Linked DNA regions of Homo sapiens: region 2 is linked to region 1. The links are contacts of gene promoters, found by promoter capture Hi-C in human tissues and cell types (Jung and others, 2019). All regions are on one chromosome and are shown on one strand. Each heading gives the region's core, a stretch centred on a gene start or on the middle of the fragment in contact. The rest is flanking DNA. Distances are from core to core; before and after follow the strand shown.

Region 1 (7,568 bases), core at 4,729-7,228:
GTAAGAGCAGGCACGCCTTAACTCAAGATCTCTTCCCCACCTTGGGGTGTGAAGCCAAGGGCCAACTCAAATGCATCTGACAGACTGACAGCTGGGCTGTCTGGGGAGATAAGCATGTGGGTGTCAGGCAGAGGGAGGGAGGTGTCAACCACAGAGCAGAGCCAGGCAAGAGCACTGTCAGCCCCACCCTCAGCTCTGCCTGTGGAGGCACACCCTACAGCTGCTTAACCTCTAAGCCAGTGACGTCCCAGATCCCTTCCTGACCTGGGGTCCTTACCTGGTGCCTCTCAAAAGTGTCCATGTGACAGAGGTCCTGGACCCATGTGCTGAGCTGACTGGGAAGTCAGCTGGCTGGCCTCAAGGTTGGAGGTGGCAATGGATATGGGTTGAAGAAGTTTTTAAGGTTTTCAGGGAGGAAGTGGGGCTTCTGGCTGTGGTTCCGTTGTCTCCCTTTCTTGGTGCATGAGTCAGCCAACCCCACCCCCAGTTCTACTTTGCTCCTCCAGCCCCTACCCTCCTAATAATAAGCTCAGATGTACATTACTTTCCATTTCACAACATCCAGCAAGCTTCTTGATAGCCGGAATGTAATTCCAAGGTCTGAGTCATATTTCTATGGGCTGTATTCCCAGAAAATAGTCCAATGCCTGACACATAGCTGGTAATTAATAAATATGTGAATTACTTTGGGAGGCTGTTTGAGGGCAGGAGTTTGAGACTAGCCTGGTCAGCACAGCCAGACCCTGTCTCTACCAAAATACAACAAGAAAGAAAGAAAGAAAGAAAGAAAGAAAGAAAGAAAGAAAGAAAGAAAGAAAGAAAGAAAGGAAGGAAGAAAGAAAAGGCAAATAAATATGTGAATGAATGACGTTCTTGCAGGGTACCAGATGCTAATTCTGCAGCTCGTTTCAAGATGGCCTCTGTTTGTCTTAATTTTTCTGGGAGCCCCTTCTACCAAACATATTTGTGGCACTTTTTACTTCTTCAAATGCCTGGAAAGTCTTCCCTAAGCTCTCCCTCACCTCTGGGACTTACAACCTCAACTTGGGTCATGTGTTTCTTTTAAAATTGTATATATTTAAGATCTACAACATGATGTTTTGATACACATATGCTCAGTAAAGTGATTACTACAGTCAAGCAATTTAACACATCCATCACCTCACAGTTACCTTTTGTGTGTGTGTGCGGTAAAAGTACCTAAAATTACTTTTAGCAAATGTCTACTATATAATATTACTAACTATAATCCTCATGCTGTATGTTACAGCTCTAGACTTATTCATTCTAAGTAACTGCAACTTTGTACCCTTTGACCTTCATCTCCCATTTCCCTTACACCCCAGGCCCCTGCCCCTGGTAAAGACCTTTCTACTCTCTGTTTCTATGCTTTCCACTTTGGGGTCATGTGGTGTTTTTTGGTTTTTTTTTTTTGAGACTGAGTTTTGCTCTTGTCTCCCAGGCTGGAGTGCAATGGCACGATCTCAGCTCACTGCAACCTCCGCCTCCTAGGTTCAAGCGATTCTCCTGCCTCAACCTCTCAAGTAGCTGGGATTACAGGCACCCACCACCATGCCCGGCTAATTTTCGTATTTTTAGTAGAGACAAAGTTTCACCATGTTGGCCAGGCTGGTCTTGAACTCCTGACCTCAGGTGATCCACCCGCCTCGGCCTCCCAAAGTGCTGGGATTACAGGCATGAGCCACGCCCAGCCAGGTCATCTGATCTTAAGTGAGTCATTTTCCTTATCTGAGTGTCAGTTTTCTTGCCTCTAAAATGGGAATAATGGCATTCATCTCCCAGAGTCACTCTGCTGATCCAGTGAGACAAAGCGTGTGGAATGGCTTTGCATGGTTCCTGGCATATAATGAGGGCTCCCATGCCAAGAGCTATTATTATTGTGGTGTGTGGATGGGGTAGGAGAAGACTGCATTGAATGAGAGCAATGATCCCCAACCAGGGAAGGGTCAATAAATAAAGCAAGAAAACTAAATGTAGTTAATCTCTCCAATTGTGCTGCCCAAATTTCGATCTTCCAAAATGGGTCAGGAATAACCATCAAAATTTTAACACTTTTAAGAAGCTGACTTGCAGATGCTTGCCTAACTAGGTAAAGGGTAATGTACAATATAGTCATCCACATTGGTCAAGTGCTTGCTTTGGGCCAGGCACCATCCTAAGGGCTTTACATGGATTATCTTGAGGAAACCTGGAAATAATTCTATGAGGCAAGTGCTATTATTATCTCCATTTGACAGATGAGGAAAGATGCACAGAGAGGTTAAGTGATTTGCCATAAGTTTACCCAGTTGGGATTAAATCCAGCAGAGCTCGTATTCTTAACCATTCCGCATACTGACTCTGTCTGGAGGTCTTTTCCAGCCTTGTGTAGAAAGGGGAAAATTGGATCCCACCCGTATGTCCACCAACAGGGGAAGGCTACATATTAAGCACAACCCTGCAATGGAACATTATATAGTCAGGAAAAAGCAGGAGGCAGATAGGTATGTTCAGGGCATGAAATGATGCCCACAATGGATTATTAGAAAACCCAGAAGAGACTGGGCATGGTGGCTCCCAAAGTGTAATCCAGCACTTTGGGAGGCCAAGGTGGGTGGATCACTTGAGGTCAGGAGTTTGAGACCAGCCTGGCCAATGTGGTGAAACCCCGTCTCTACTAAAAATACAAAAAAATTAACTGGGCTTGGTGGCGCATGCCTGTAGTCCCAGCTTGAACAGGAGAATTGCTTGAACCCAGGAGGCAGAGGTTGCTAGTGAGCCAAGATCACACCACTGTACTCCAACCTGGGAGGCAGAGTCAGATTCTGTCTCAAAAAAAAAAAAAAAGAAAAGAAAAGAAAAGAAAACCCGGAAGAGCAATGTGCATCAATATATTCCCATGTTTGTATAAAACACAATTTAGCCTTTCAGCCCCTATGCTCAGGCCCACTCCAACACTGTGGAGTGTACTTTATTTTCAATAAATCCCTTCATTTCTTCGTTGCTTTGTTTCTGCTTTTTGTCCAATTCTTTGTTCAAGATGCCAAGAACCTGGACACCCCCCACCAGTGACATATTTTGGCCAGCCAGCCCGGAGGAAGGGCCGCTCAGGGAAAGAGAGCCCAGAAACCTGGCATACCAGCAAAAGGAGGCCATCAAGCTTCAGATGATCATGCAACAAAGGCTCCAGCCAGTCCAGGTGAAGACACCACCCCTGGCCATCAAGAAGCTACCCTGCCTCCACTAGACAGAACAAGGTGAGGGTTCCATGATCCCCAATAAGTAGGGACTACGCCCCATGCCAGCATGAAGCAGTCCCAGGAAAAAGACCATCGGTCCCTCTGCCTCCCGTGAAGATTTACGGGGACCACAATCACATCTCTTAGCGGGGAGATGAGGCAGGAAAATAGGGGCTGGAGGCAGGAAACATAAGGCCAATTCACACTTCAGCTCTGACAGGAAATAGCTTCTCCCTGAGTACATGACATTGTAACTTTACTTCATTCTCTTCATTTACATAGGGCGTACCACAAGCAGAAGGTATTTAAACTCTCAAAAACTCTGTAATGGGGCCTTTGAGCCCCTATGCTCAGGCCTGCTCCCACACTGCAGAGTGTACTTTCATTTTCAATAAGTCACTTCATTCCTTAGGAAAAAAAAAAGCAATTAAAAAAATCAATTTACCTGTTTGTTGGTTCATAGAAAAATGTCTGGAAGGGTAAACACTAAACAATTCACATTGACCACTGGGAAATTGCGAAGGAGGAGGAGCTTCCATTTTTCGTTTTTACATTTTCTGTTGTTTGAAATGTTTACCACTAGTATGTATTATTTTGCAACTAACGAAAGGAAGAAGAAAGTGTGCAGTGAGCACCGGGAGCCCAAGGACCCAGCCCCTCCAGCTCTTGTCCCCTAATGTGGAGGCACCTCCTCTTCAGAGGCCTCCCGAATGTGCCCCTTGCACCTGGAGTCAGCTCCCTACTCCCCCTCTGTCCGCACTTCCCAAACCCACTCTGGTGATCATGGGCTTTCCTTGGCTTGGGTCTCTGGTCTGGGTCAAGGCATCTGCTCAGGTTCCTCAGTTAGAAGACCATGGTCCTCCCTCTGTGCTACCTCCCCAGGGCATGTGGGACAAAGTGACATCACATTTAGGCCTGTGACATCACAGGGCATGGATGACACAAGACAGATGATCTGGGAGATGACAGCAAGGAAGGGCTTGGCAGGCAGAGGCTTCTCCACGTGGGAACCTGAGGGAGTCTGTCCTCAGCCCACCTCCTGGGGCATTTCCTAGCCAAGCCAGGGAGCTTTCAGGATTGGAGACCTGGAAATCTCCAAGGCCATTTCCTTTTTTATTTTTTTCTAACAGAGAGGTTGTGCAAAGTGTTCTGAGAGCTGGGAGCAGAGTGTGATGCCAGGAGGGAGCACAGCTGGCAGATGGAAGCCAAAGGTGTGTGGGGAAGTGCCTTGGAGGGGAGGAAACTTCACTCGGTGCCCCTCACTTCCCTGTGATTCCCAGCAAGACAGCAGGGGAGGCGGGCTTGTGGCCTGGGGGTCTGAGAGGGCTCTTCCTTTTAGGGAGTAGAGTTTTGGTGAACTAAGCCCCTCCATTACGCTGAAGGATACTGAGGGGGCCACTGAGGAGTTGGGGGAAGGACTGGGAACAGCATGTGGGAAGAGAGAGCAAGAAAGAAAGAAATGAGGGGGTGGCTGTCGTAGTGGGGGAAGCTGACATGGCCAAGAGATGGCAGAGTCTGAGGTTTACCACTAAAGAGCTCTTGGCTACTTGTTGTGTGACTCTGGATGAGCTGCTAATAATAAAATCCACCACACAGGCTTATTGTGAAGACTAAATGAGATAAAGTTTATGAAGCCCCTAGCACAGTGCCAGACACAGCAAGAAAGCTGTTTGTAAAGGTGGCTATTTACTCTGTTCCTTGGACAATTCCAGCTGGAACCCTGTTACTTTATCTTCTATTCTGGGCATGTATAATGCAGAATTATCAGTTGTAAGCTACAAAAACCATTTCAGGAGGAGTTAAGCAGAAGGAATTTGTTTAAAAGATGTTAGAAAAGCTCGCAGGAGGTCTGAGAAGGCTGGAGAGCAAGGCTTGGAGAATAGGATGGATCAAGGGAGGCTGGAAGTAGACAGGACCATGGCCAAATATCACACCCCAGGACCAGCCCTGCACAGATTCTGCAGCCTCCCCTGAACCCCCTTCTTTCCTTCACTGCCCTGGAAGCCGGATGTGGTACCACAGCCTTTGTTGTAGAGAGGAGTTTCCACAGACCTGCCACCTCAGGACCAGTGGCTTTTTTTATTGTATTTTATTTTATTTTGAGATGGAGCCTCACTCTGTTGCCCAGCCTGGAGTGTAGCAGAGCCATCTCAGCTCACTGCAACCTCCGCCTCCCGGGTTCAAGCAATTCTCCTGCCTCAGTCTCCCAAGTAGCTGGAAATACAGGCACGTGCCACCACACTTGGCTAATTTTTGTATTTTTGTAGAGATGGGGTCCCACCATGTTGGCCAGGCTGGTCTTGAACTCCTGACCTCAAGTGATCTGCCCGCCTCGGCCTCCCAAAGTCCTGGGATTACAGGCGTGAGCCACTGCGCTCAGCCAGTGGCACTAGCTTCTGATCTGCTAGTCTACTGGGCTGCAGTGGAGATTAATGGCTGCTTGGGGCTTTTGTACCCTGGGCCAGACTCACGCACACCAGAATTTGTGTGAGGCCACAGGGGTTATGCCTCTTCTCATGCTCACAAGACTCGGCTTGGCAAGGAAATGTCCCAGGAGGTGGGCTAAGACAGACTCCCTCAGGTTCCCACATGGAGCAGCCTCTGCCTGCCAAGCCCTTCCTTGCTCTCGTCTCCCAGATCATCTGTCTTGTCAGCCTCCATGCCCTGTGATGTCACAGGCCTAAATGTGATGTCACTTTGTCCCACATGCCCTGGGGAGGTAGCACAAAGGGAGGACCATGGTCTTCTAACTGAGGAACCTGAGCAGATGCCTTGACCCAGACCAGAGACCCAAGCCAAGGAAAGCCCATGATCACCAGAGTAGGTTGGGAAGTGCGGATAGAGGGGAAGTAGTTTTTATTTTTTTCTAACAGAGAAGTTGTGCAAGGTGTTCTGAGAGTTGGGAGCAGAGTGTGATGCCAGGAGAGGGCAGAGCTGGCAGATGGAAGCCAAAGGTGTGCGGGTCACCCCTTCTGGGTGGGGACATCTGATCGACCTAGTCCATGTATGCCTGCATGAAGTGCTGGTGAGGGAGGTTGGAATTAAGTATTTGGCCATTTCGGCTTTTATAATGGGAGGTACCTTTTGCCTCCCTCAAGACTCATGTAGGGGAAAAGTTTCAGAGGCTGGGCGTCCAAAAAAACCTGACAGATGTCTACATGGAAAACCAAAATGAGTAGACAGAGGACCCTGTCCTTGAGATGCTCACAAACATGTTGGGATCAGTTATGTGGAGGATGAGTCACAGCCCTAGGGGCTGAGCTGGCAGAGAAACCCCAGGAACATGCCCCAGCCCATGGTGCACAGCCTGAGATGTCCCTGTATATTCTGGGACACCAGGGTGGCGTGGCTGGGGTGCAGATTGATGGCTGGTTGGGGCTTTTGCACCCTGGGCCAGACTCACGCACACCAGAATTTGTGTAAGGCCGCAGGGGTGATGCCTCTTCTCATGCTCACAAGAATAATGACATTGCTCAGGCTAAAAAGCCACTTTCTGGCCTATGAGGTCTCCCTTTTTGTATCTAGACATGTCTTTTCCTTATTTATTAACTTTTTTTAAGACAGGGTCTCGCTCTGTCACCCAGGCTGGAGTGCAGTGGCATGATCTCAGCTCACTGCAGTCTCGACCTCCCTGGCTCAAGTGATCCTCCCACCTCAGCCTCCTGAGTAGCTGGAACAACAGGCATGCGCTACCATGCCTGGCTAATTTTTGTATTTTTTGTAGAGATGGTGTTTCACCATGTTGCTCATGCTGGTCTTGAACTCCTGGGCTCAAGCAGTTGGCCCACCTCAGCCTCCCAAAGTGCTGGGATTACAGATGTGAGCCACCACACCTGGCCTAGTCATGCCTTACACCCATTTTGCTATGTCTATTTTTTTTTTTTTTAAAGAGACAGGGTCTTTCTCTGTCACCCAGGCTAGAGTGCAGTGGCAATATCCTAGTTCACTGCAGCCTTATATTCCTGGGCTCAAGTGATCCTCCTGCCTCAGCCTCCTGAGTAGCTGGGACCAGAGGTGCAAGTCACCATGCCCAGCTAAGTTTTGTATTTTTTGTAGAGATGAGGTCTTGCTTTGTTGCCCAGGCTGATCTCAAACTCCTGGGCTCAAGAGATGGGTCTGCCTTGGTCTCCTGAAGTGCTGGGATTACAGATGTGAGCCACTTCACCTGGCCATGTGCTTGAATTATCTTTTGCCTCTTGGGGCCTCTAGATTAGAGGATAGAACTTTCCAGGGTCAGGAGATCTGAGATGGGACTTGGAGGAGGAAAACGTGTTTGCTGTATCTCTGTGAGATCAGCTGCCTTCTCTGTCCTCTGTCTCATTCCATATC
Region 2 (7,568 bases), core at 1,316-3,815, 350 kb after region 1:
ATACAGAAGGAACCCTCTGCCACCGGGGCCCTGGACAACCTCAGAGGGACTCCCATTCTTGCCTGCCCAGCTAGCCTTTAGAGGCTGCTGGCCTGCTGGGGACACAGAGGGTTAGAGTGCTTAGGGGATAACTATCACCTGAGGCGCATCACCCCCAACTAGCCCAGGCGGAAAGAGTTTCTGTACAAGCTCACCACATCCCACAGGCCCCCAGTCCCTTATATATGTCAAGGGCCTCTCACTGGCAGGAAATTCTTTAGATCTGACCTGCGTCATATTTGCTATAACCAAAGGCTGTTTCTTTGAGAGGTTAATCCCCAAAATTAGACACGGGAGCAGCTTCCAGCTGTGACTGTGAGGCCCTTCTGAGGCATTTGATGAGGTTGATCATAAACTTTTACTTAAAACTCAGAATTCTCATACTGAAGGCTTTGGAGATAGGCAATTCTGGATCAAAATACTGGCTCTTTCCGGCTGGGTGGCCTGAGAAAAATTACTTAACCTGTCTGAGCTTTCGTGCCTGGTACACAAACACTTAAATGCTAACAACTAGCATATTTTATTATAATCATTATTTATATAAGTGCTTAGCACAGAGTAAGCACTATACAACTGTATGTGGGGAAAAAAAATATTAGGGTAGGAGGTTTGGAATGAGTCGTGTTTTATGTTTTGAAAGATCCCCAGGGGAGAATTCCAAAACCTACCTTAGACAACCCTTGCTTCAAGTCCCCATCTTAATGGAAGTGCTCTCTGCCATCTAACCTGGCTCCCTCCTGCTGCTGCAGCTGAGGCCTAAGTCTACCAGGACTACCTGGTTCTCCCATCTCAGTCCTGCCTTCTACCCTCGTTTTTGGGCTTGCGTCTATTCCAGCCCCCTCCCATCCAGCCCCCAAGGCAAAAGGTTCACTTACTGCCCAGGTCCAGGGTCTTGCTCACAGCGCCCATCCCAGGGGCAGGCAGAGGAGCCAGTGTCTGCTGTGCGCCACCCACCCCTCTCCTCTTCCAGGGCTAGCAGGGCTACCCCGGGCTGGGGGCTGTGTTGCCGCAGCTGGCCAGGAGCCCCACCTCGCAACGGGTGGGCTTCAGGGAGAAAAGGGAGGGCCACATCAAAGCCGGGCCGGAAGGAGTCCACCGTGGGGCTGGCCTCAGCCACCATAGCCTGTCCCAGCTGGAAGGTCCTGGGGCAGGGAGCCGGGTGGAGACGGAGGACCAGATGGTTCCTGCCCCTGTTCCATTGCAGAGGCATTGAGCTGCACTCTCCAGTCTGGGCGTCCAGGCTGAGGAGGAGGAGGAGGCAGGCCCCAGCAGGGCTGAATGTGTAGAAGCGAGAGCCCTCAATGGAAGCCAGGATCCTGCGATGAGTCTCAGAGATGGTTCCAACCGCTGGGTACACGAATACCTTAAGGCCATCGCCCCTGCACTTTGAGGTATCAAAGCAAGATTCCCAGTTGCAGCTGCCACCATGAGGGGCTTGAGGAGGTGAAACGGCATCTTCTGGGAGCTCTCCAGGCTGGGAGAAGCTCTGCAGGAGCTCTGCATCCAGCCAGCGGGGCCAGCCTTGGGAAGCCCCGGGCCGAGGTCTGGGAGGCAATGCCAGGCGGAGAAGGGAGAAGCCTCCCAGCAGGACAAGCAGGAGCCAGGAGGCTGACAGTGCCAGCCACAGGGACTTTCTTCTCCTCCACGACTGCATGTGGCCACCCACAGTCAGGGCTAGGGAAGCTGGGAGGCCTCTGCCAGCAAGCAGGAAGAGCAGGGCCTGGGGCGGGAGACCAGAGCTGGGACCGACCTGCTAGTCCTGTGCTGTCATTGTACAGATGGGAAGACTGAGGCCCATCGAGACCAGGCCGCCTGTCTAAGGTCAGATAGTGAGTCACCAGCCAGGCAGGAGGAGGCCAGGTGGGACCCAGCTTGCTGGCCTGGCCCCCCTGCTCTCAGGACTCTGCCTTCTCGGCCTTTGGACAACCAAGCCAGCCTTTTCCCTCCCAGCAGGGACCCCTGCCCCTGGGCACTGCTCTGGCTGACGCAACCCCTGTCCAGAATGCAGGGCCGTGTCCCCCTGCCCTCCTGGCTGCACCCCTTGACCTTGCCCTCAACTGAGAGGAGGGCTGTCTGCCAGGCCATGGGGACCAGTCAGAGCTCCCACAGGAGGCGGCTTGGCCAGGGACAGGCTGGAGGGAGCTGGGCTGGTCTTCCCACTCCTCCCCTTGCCTGAGCAGCCCTGGCTGCCCCTGTGCCCGCTGGCAGACGCTTCTGGGCTGTGGCCCCTGTGGCTGGAGCTAAAATTAGACCCTGCATCCCATGTGGATCATCGGCGTCAGCTGAGGTCACAGCCTGGGTGCAGCCGGTGTCCCCCTGCCTTGGAGGGCCAGGAGGGCTCGGGGTCCTGATCCTTATCCACTCTGCCGCTGCACCAGCTCAGGAAGTGCAGCCCCTCTTCCCCGCAGCCCAGCAGCTGCCTTGCACCATCTGGCTTGGAGCTATCACAGTGCAGAGGCCAGGGCCGCTGTGCCAAGCCCCCCAAACCCTATGGTATCTCCTCCCATCCCTCTCCAGTCGGCAACTGGCCCATCCTGATCTCTTTCCTTAGCAGCAGCCTGGCTCCTCCCCTCCCAGCCCTGATTCGCTCCTGGCTGGGAGGCAGGGTCTCCATTTAACCCCTTCCAAACCAGTTTCCTCAATTGCTAATCCAACCAGCAAGTACTGCAACTCACAGCTGGCCATGAGTTATCACAGCCTCTGTCTCTCAGTCCTCCAGCCACCCTCCAAGGCAGAGATTTACCTGTCATTTCTTACAGATGAGGAAAGCTCAGAGAGGGGATGAACTCTTCCTAAGGTGACCCAGCTAAGAAGTGGCAGGGTGGGGATTTCAATCCTGAGCTCCTGGTCGTTGGTCACCCCAGCTGTGGGCCCTGTGGCTGGAGAAAAACTAGACCCTGCACCTGCTGTGGGCCATCAGAGTCAGTGGAGGTCAGAGCCTGAGTGTGAGGAATCTCTGAATCGGCACATGAGAAGGTCAACAGGTGAGACAAGTGAGGAGTTAAGGGGCGGGGGTGGAGGAATTGGGTAAGGTGCCCCCAACTGTCCCCAGGATTGGTCTCTCCTCCTTCAGCAGCCCCACCCCCAATCTCCTCCAATTCCCAGCCTTTTGCTCCAGTCCTTATGGAAAGTTCTTCCTGCACTTGACTCTTCCATAGTCCAGGCCCCATGGAGGGATTTCCCCGGTCAGTGCCCTGTGAGGGGAGTCAGGAGTGGGTGATGTCAGCCACTGAGGAATCTCTGGGGTGACGGGGGAGACACACTCTGGCCATGAGGAGTTCTGGGCTGATGAGGGAAGGCACAGGGAGTGGACAGACTTGAGTGGGTTCTGCCTCTTCCCCTGACTGCCTCGGGGGTGTTGGGCCTCTGTCCCCTTATCTCTGGGATGGGCATAATGTCAGCCAGGAATGGGTTGCCAGGTTGACGCAGGCCTGTCCCCTGAGGTCCCTCAACAAGTGGTGGCCTCCTTTCCCCTGCGTGCCTCCCCTTGATCTTGGAGGGCTGCTGATCAGACCAGGGAGCCACCGTGGGATGTTTTGCCCTCAGTGAGCAGCCAGTGTGAGAGTCCTAAAAATGGCCCACAAAGGGGACACTTGCCTCTTGGCACTAATGGCTCAGCCACTCGGTGATGAACTGCAGTTCCTGCATAACTCAGTCCTCCCACACTGAGAGGCATCCACAAAGGCCACTGGCTGCTTCGCACGCCCCCCCTTTCACTGTGCCCAGCCAACTCCTCATCCTGCAGGAGTCAGCTGAAAGCTCCCTCCCCACAAGAAGCTTCTCCAATGCTCCGCAGGCTGGGTTAGAGCCCCCGTCTAGGTCCTCATGTCATTCCTTCATCCCTCTATCCCCATACACAGTCATCCATTCATCTAACAAACACTTATGAGTGTTGAATATGGGCCAGGTTCTGAGCTAGGCCAGGAACACAACCCTGAGTAAGAGTAATCATAGCTGACACTCGTATTGCACTTACAGCGTGCCAAGCATCCCTCTTTTGTATCAGCTTGTTTCATCCTTTCCCCAACCCTAGGAGGGAGAAACTGTGATGATCCACATTTTACAGTTGGGAAAACTGAGGCCGAGGGAGCTTAAGTAATTTGCCTGAATTCTCACGGCTTAGCCAGGACTTGGACCCAGGTAGTGTGCTCCTATATCCGCTGCACCATTCCAGCTCCCAACAGGGAGGGAGACAGACGCGTCCCCACCCTCCAGAGCTCGCTGTCCTGGAGAAGACAATTATAGAACTAGGCAATTGCAGGCAATTACAGAATGAGGGGAGGGGACCCTGAGAGTACACAGAGGGGCTGCCTAGCCCAGGGGGCCAGAGAAGGCTTCCGAGGAAGTGATACCTACCCTAAGACCTGAAAGACAGCAATGTGGTTTTTAGAAAAATCGCTGTGGCTGTCTGTGTGGGATCAGACAGGAAATGGCAGGACTGGAGGCAGGGACAGCTTTTTGACTGGTCTGTCACCCCACAAGTCTCTCATTCATTCAACAGCTATTTACTGAACCCCTATTGTGGGGCCAGGCAGGTCTTAAGGGCAGTGAGCAAAGCAGAAAAAATCTTGCCCTCCTGGAACTTACCCTCCAGGGAGGGGAAATAGGCAAGAAACAAAATGAATAAATATCTCATACTATTTGACAATAACTGCTGGGGAGATGGGATGGGTTGCAATGTTAGACAGAAATACGGGAGGCCTCATAAAAAAGCTGGCATTTGGGAGGCTGAGGCAGGCGGATTACAAGGTCAGGAGATTGAGACCGTCCTGGCTAACACGGTGAAACCCCGTCTCTACTAAAAATACAAAAAATTAGCCGGGCGTGGTTGCAGGCGCCTGTAGTCCCAGCTACTCGGGAGGCTGAGGCAGGAGAATGGCCTGAACCCGGGAGGCAGAGCTTGCAGTGAGCCGAGATCGTGCCACTGCACTCCAGCCTGGGGGACAGAGCGAAACTCCATCTCAAAAAAAAAAAAAAGCTGGCATTTGTGGCCTGGTGCAGTGGCTCACATCTGTCATCTCAGCAATTTGGGAGGCCAAAGTGTGCAGATCACTTGAGGCCAAGAGTTCGAGACCAGCCTGGCCAACAAAGCAAGACCCCATCTCTACTAAAAATACAAAAACTAGCCCGGCGTGGTGGCGCACGCCTGTAATCCCAGCTACTTGGGAGGTTGAGACATGAGAATTGCTTGAAGCTGGGAGGTGGAGATTGCAGTGAGCCGAGATTACGCCACTACACTCCAGCCTGGGTGACAGAGCGAGTCTGCCTCAAAAAACAAAACAAAACAAAACAAAAAAAACTCTGGCATTTGTGTAAATTTCTGAGAAAGTGAGGGAGTGAGTGAAGAAGTATATTTCTAGGGGAAAATCGCTCCAGGCAAGAGGAACAGCCGGGCCACAGGTTCTGAGGCAGGAGTGTGCCTGCCACGTGATTGGTACGCTCTGACCTTGTTTTCACAGCACGACTCAGGCTGCAGGGAAGAGGCCGGCTGTAGGGTCAGGGACAGCAGCAGGGAGCCCTGCTGGGCCAGGCTGTAGTGCAAGTGAGCCACTGCGGTGGCTGGGACCAGGATGGCAGGGGTGGGATGAATAGAAGTAGTTGGATTCTGGGTATATTTTAAGCCAGGGCAAATTGACAGATTTGCTGATAGATTAGATGTGAGGTCCGGCCTGCACCACAGACAGGGTGGAGTTGTCATTAACTGAGATGGGGAAAACTGAGGGGAACAGTTTTAGGGAAGAAGATCAGAAGTCTGGTTCTCATATATCCTTCTTATCCCCAGCAATAATAAAATAAATGTCCAGGTTGGGCACAGTGGTTCACACCTGTGATCCTAGCATTTTGGGAGGCTTAGGCAGGAGGATCCCTTGAGCCCAAGAGTTTGAGACCAGCCTGGGCAACATAGCGAGTCTTTGTCTCTACAAAAAAAAAATTTTTTTTAACTGGAGCTGGTGGCTCATGCCTGTAATCCCAGCTGCTCGGGAGGATGAGGTAGGAGGATTGCTTGATCCCAGGAATTTTAGGCTGTAATGAGCTATGGGTGCCACTGCATTCTAGCCTGGGCACAAGAGGAAGACCCCATCTTTAAAAATATAAAACAAATATAAATAAATAAATAAGCCAGGCATGATGGCATGCACCTGTAGTCCCAGCTACTCAGGTAGCTAAGGTTGGAAGGTCAGCGGGAGGATCTCTTGAGCCCAGGAGTTTGAGATCAGCCTAGGCAACATAGCAAGTCTGTCTTTATTTATTTATTTTTTTAAAGATATATGTATCCAACAAATACTTGTTGAATGAGTGAAGGAATGGAGGGACGGACAAAGTTGAGATAGCTAGGAAGCCAAGCCCAGCTGGTTTGGGGTTTGGAGGAATACCTAATCCCGTTCTATTAATAGCTCTATGTGTCTCCCACCCCAGCCCTGGGGATGCTGGCTGGCTCCTGCCCATGCCCATATTTGTGCACACACATAAGCCTTCTCCTACCTTCATCCCTGTGGAGGAGGCTCTCAGGCCAGCTGGAATCTGGGCTTGTCTAGCCTGCGATTCACGTGGTTGCCCTGGGGCTTGGATGGAGGAAGAGAAGGCCAGGGCATCCTGGCAGGCAGGACTGAGGTCAGGGATCTGCCAGGGGCCTCCGTCGGGCTTTTCAGTGCTCAACAAAGCCACCAGGAGCCTCCATCCTATACCTGGGCTCTGATCAGTGGGACAGAAATGATCACTTTGGGCGACGGGAATGAGCCAGAGCAGGAAGGAGAGGACAGCACTGAGTGGGAGGAGAGGCCCTGGCCTCAGGTGCAATGAAGGAGGCTTCCTGGAGGAGGCAGAGGACTTGTTTCTTACAGGACAGGATTGAAGCAGGCCTTTGTGTGAATTTGAGGACACAGATGCCTCTGGAGGCATCGCAGAGCTCTGAGCACTGCAGCGTGTGTCATAGCTGCGGTGGTGTCACAGCTGCCTGGGGGCTGCCTGGGCATGGGGGTGCTTCCTGCCTGAAGCACCAGGTGTCATATTGGCTAGGATGCCCAGGCAGAAAATGGGGGCTAACAATACCGTGTTTCACCTGAAGTGTTTCCTCTCTGCACCCTGCTTGGCCTTCCTTCCCTCCCTCCCGCTTCAGGCTGGGCCTGAAATCTGCAGAAGGAATGGCCCTGGCCCTCAGAGGAAGGGACCCAGCACTATAGAATGCTGTGGTTAAGAGCACAGCTCAAGTGCTCTTAACAAGCCGTGTGTTCCTGTGAAGTTACTTCACCTCTCTGTGCTTCTGTTTCCTATCAGTAAAATGGGGATGCTAATAATAGCTCCTTCCCTAAAGGCTTACTGGGAAGGAGATTAAAGAAATGAGGTAGTGAGTGTGCAGCATTCAGCATACCACGCCTGGTGTGGAGCAGGCGCCTAGCAAATGGCATCCTTCTGTCCCTCCTCAGACCCAGGGAGTTGAGGTGACTTGCCCAAGGAGCGCCAAGGTATCCATCTGGGTGGATTGGGACCAAGACTTGGGCTTCCCCCTCCCTGTTTCTCTTGCTGCATCT

What was found. Contacts are between HindIII fragments. The study calls those that stand out against the background at their distance.
Region 2: the fragment with the promoter of EXTL1 here is called in contact with the fragment with the promoter of ZNF683 in region 1 in 1 of the 25 tissues and cell types used here (mesenchymal stem cells).

What each region holds. Positions count from the first base shown.
Region 1 is chr1:26,371,160-26,378,727 of GRCh38, reverse strand. It overlaps ZNF683 (zinc finger protein 683), which reads left to right and starts at 5,978. Exons shown (of 6, transcript NM_001114759.3): 1 at 5,978-6,059. RefSeq lists an enhancer at 265-474 and a cis regulatory region at 1-690. The HindIII fragment of the contact is 13,714 bases long and covers 1,866-7,568 here.
Region 2 is chr1:26,016,772-26,024,339 of GRCh38, reverse strand. It overlaps EXTL1 (exostosin like glycosyltransferase 1), which reads right to left and starts at 2,565. Exons shown (of 11, transcript NM_004455.3): 1 at 915-2,565. The coding sequence starts at 1,693. The HindIII fragment of the contact is 12,554 bases long and covers 1,554-7,568 here.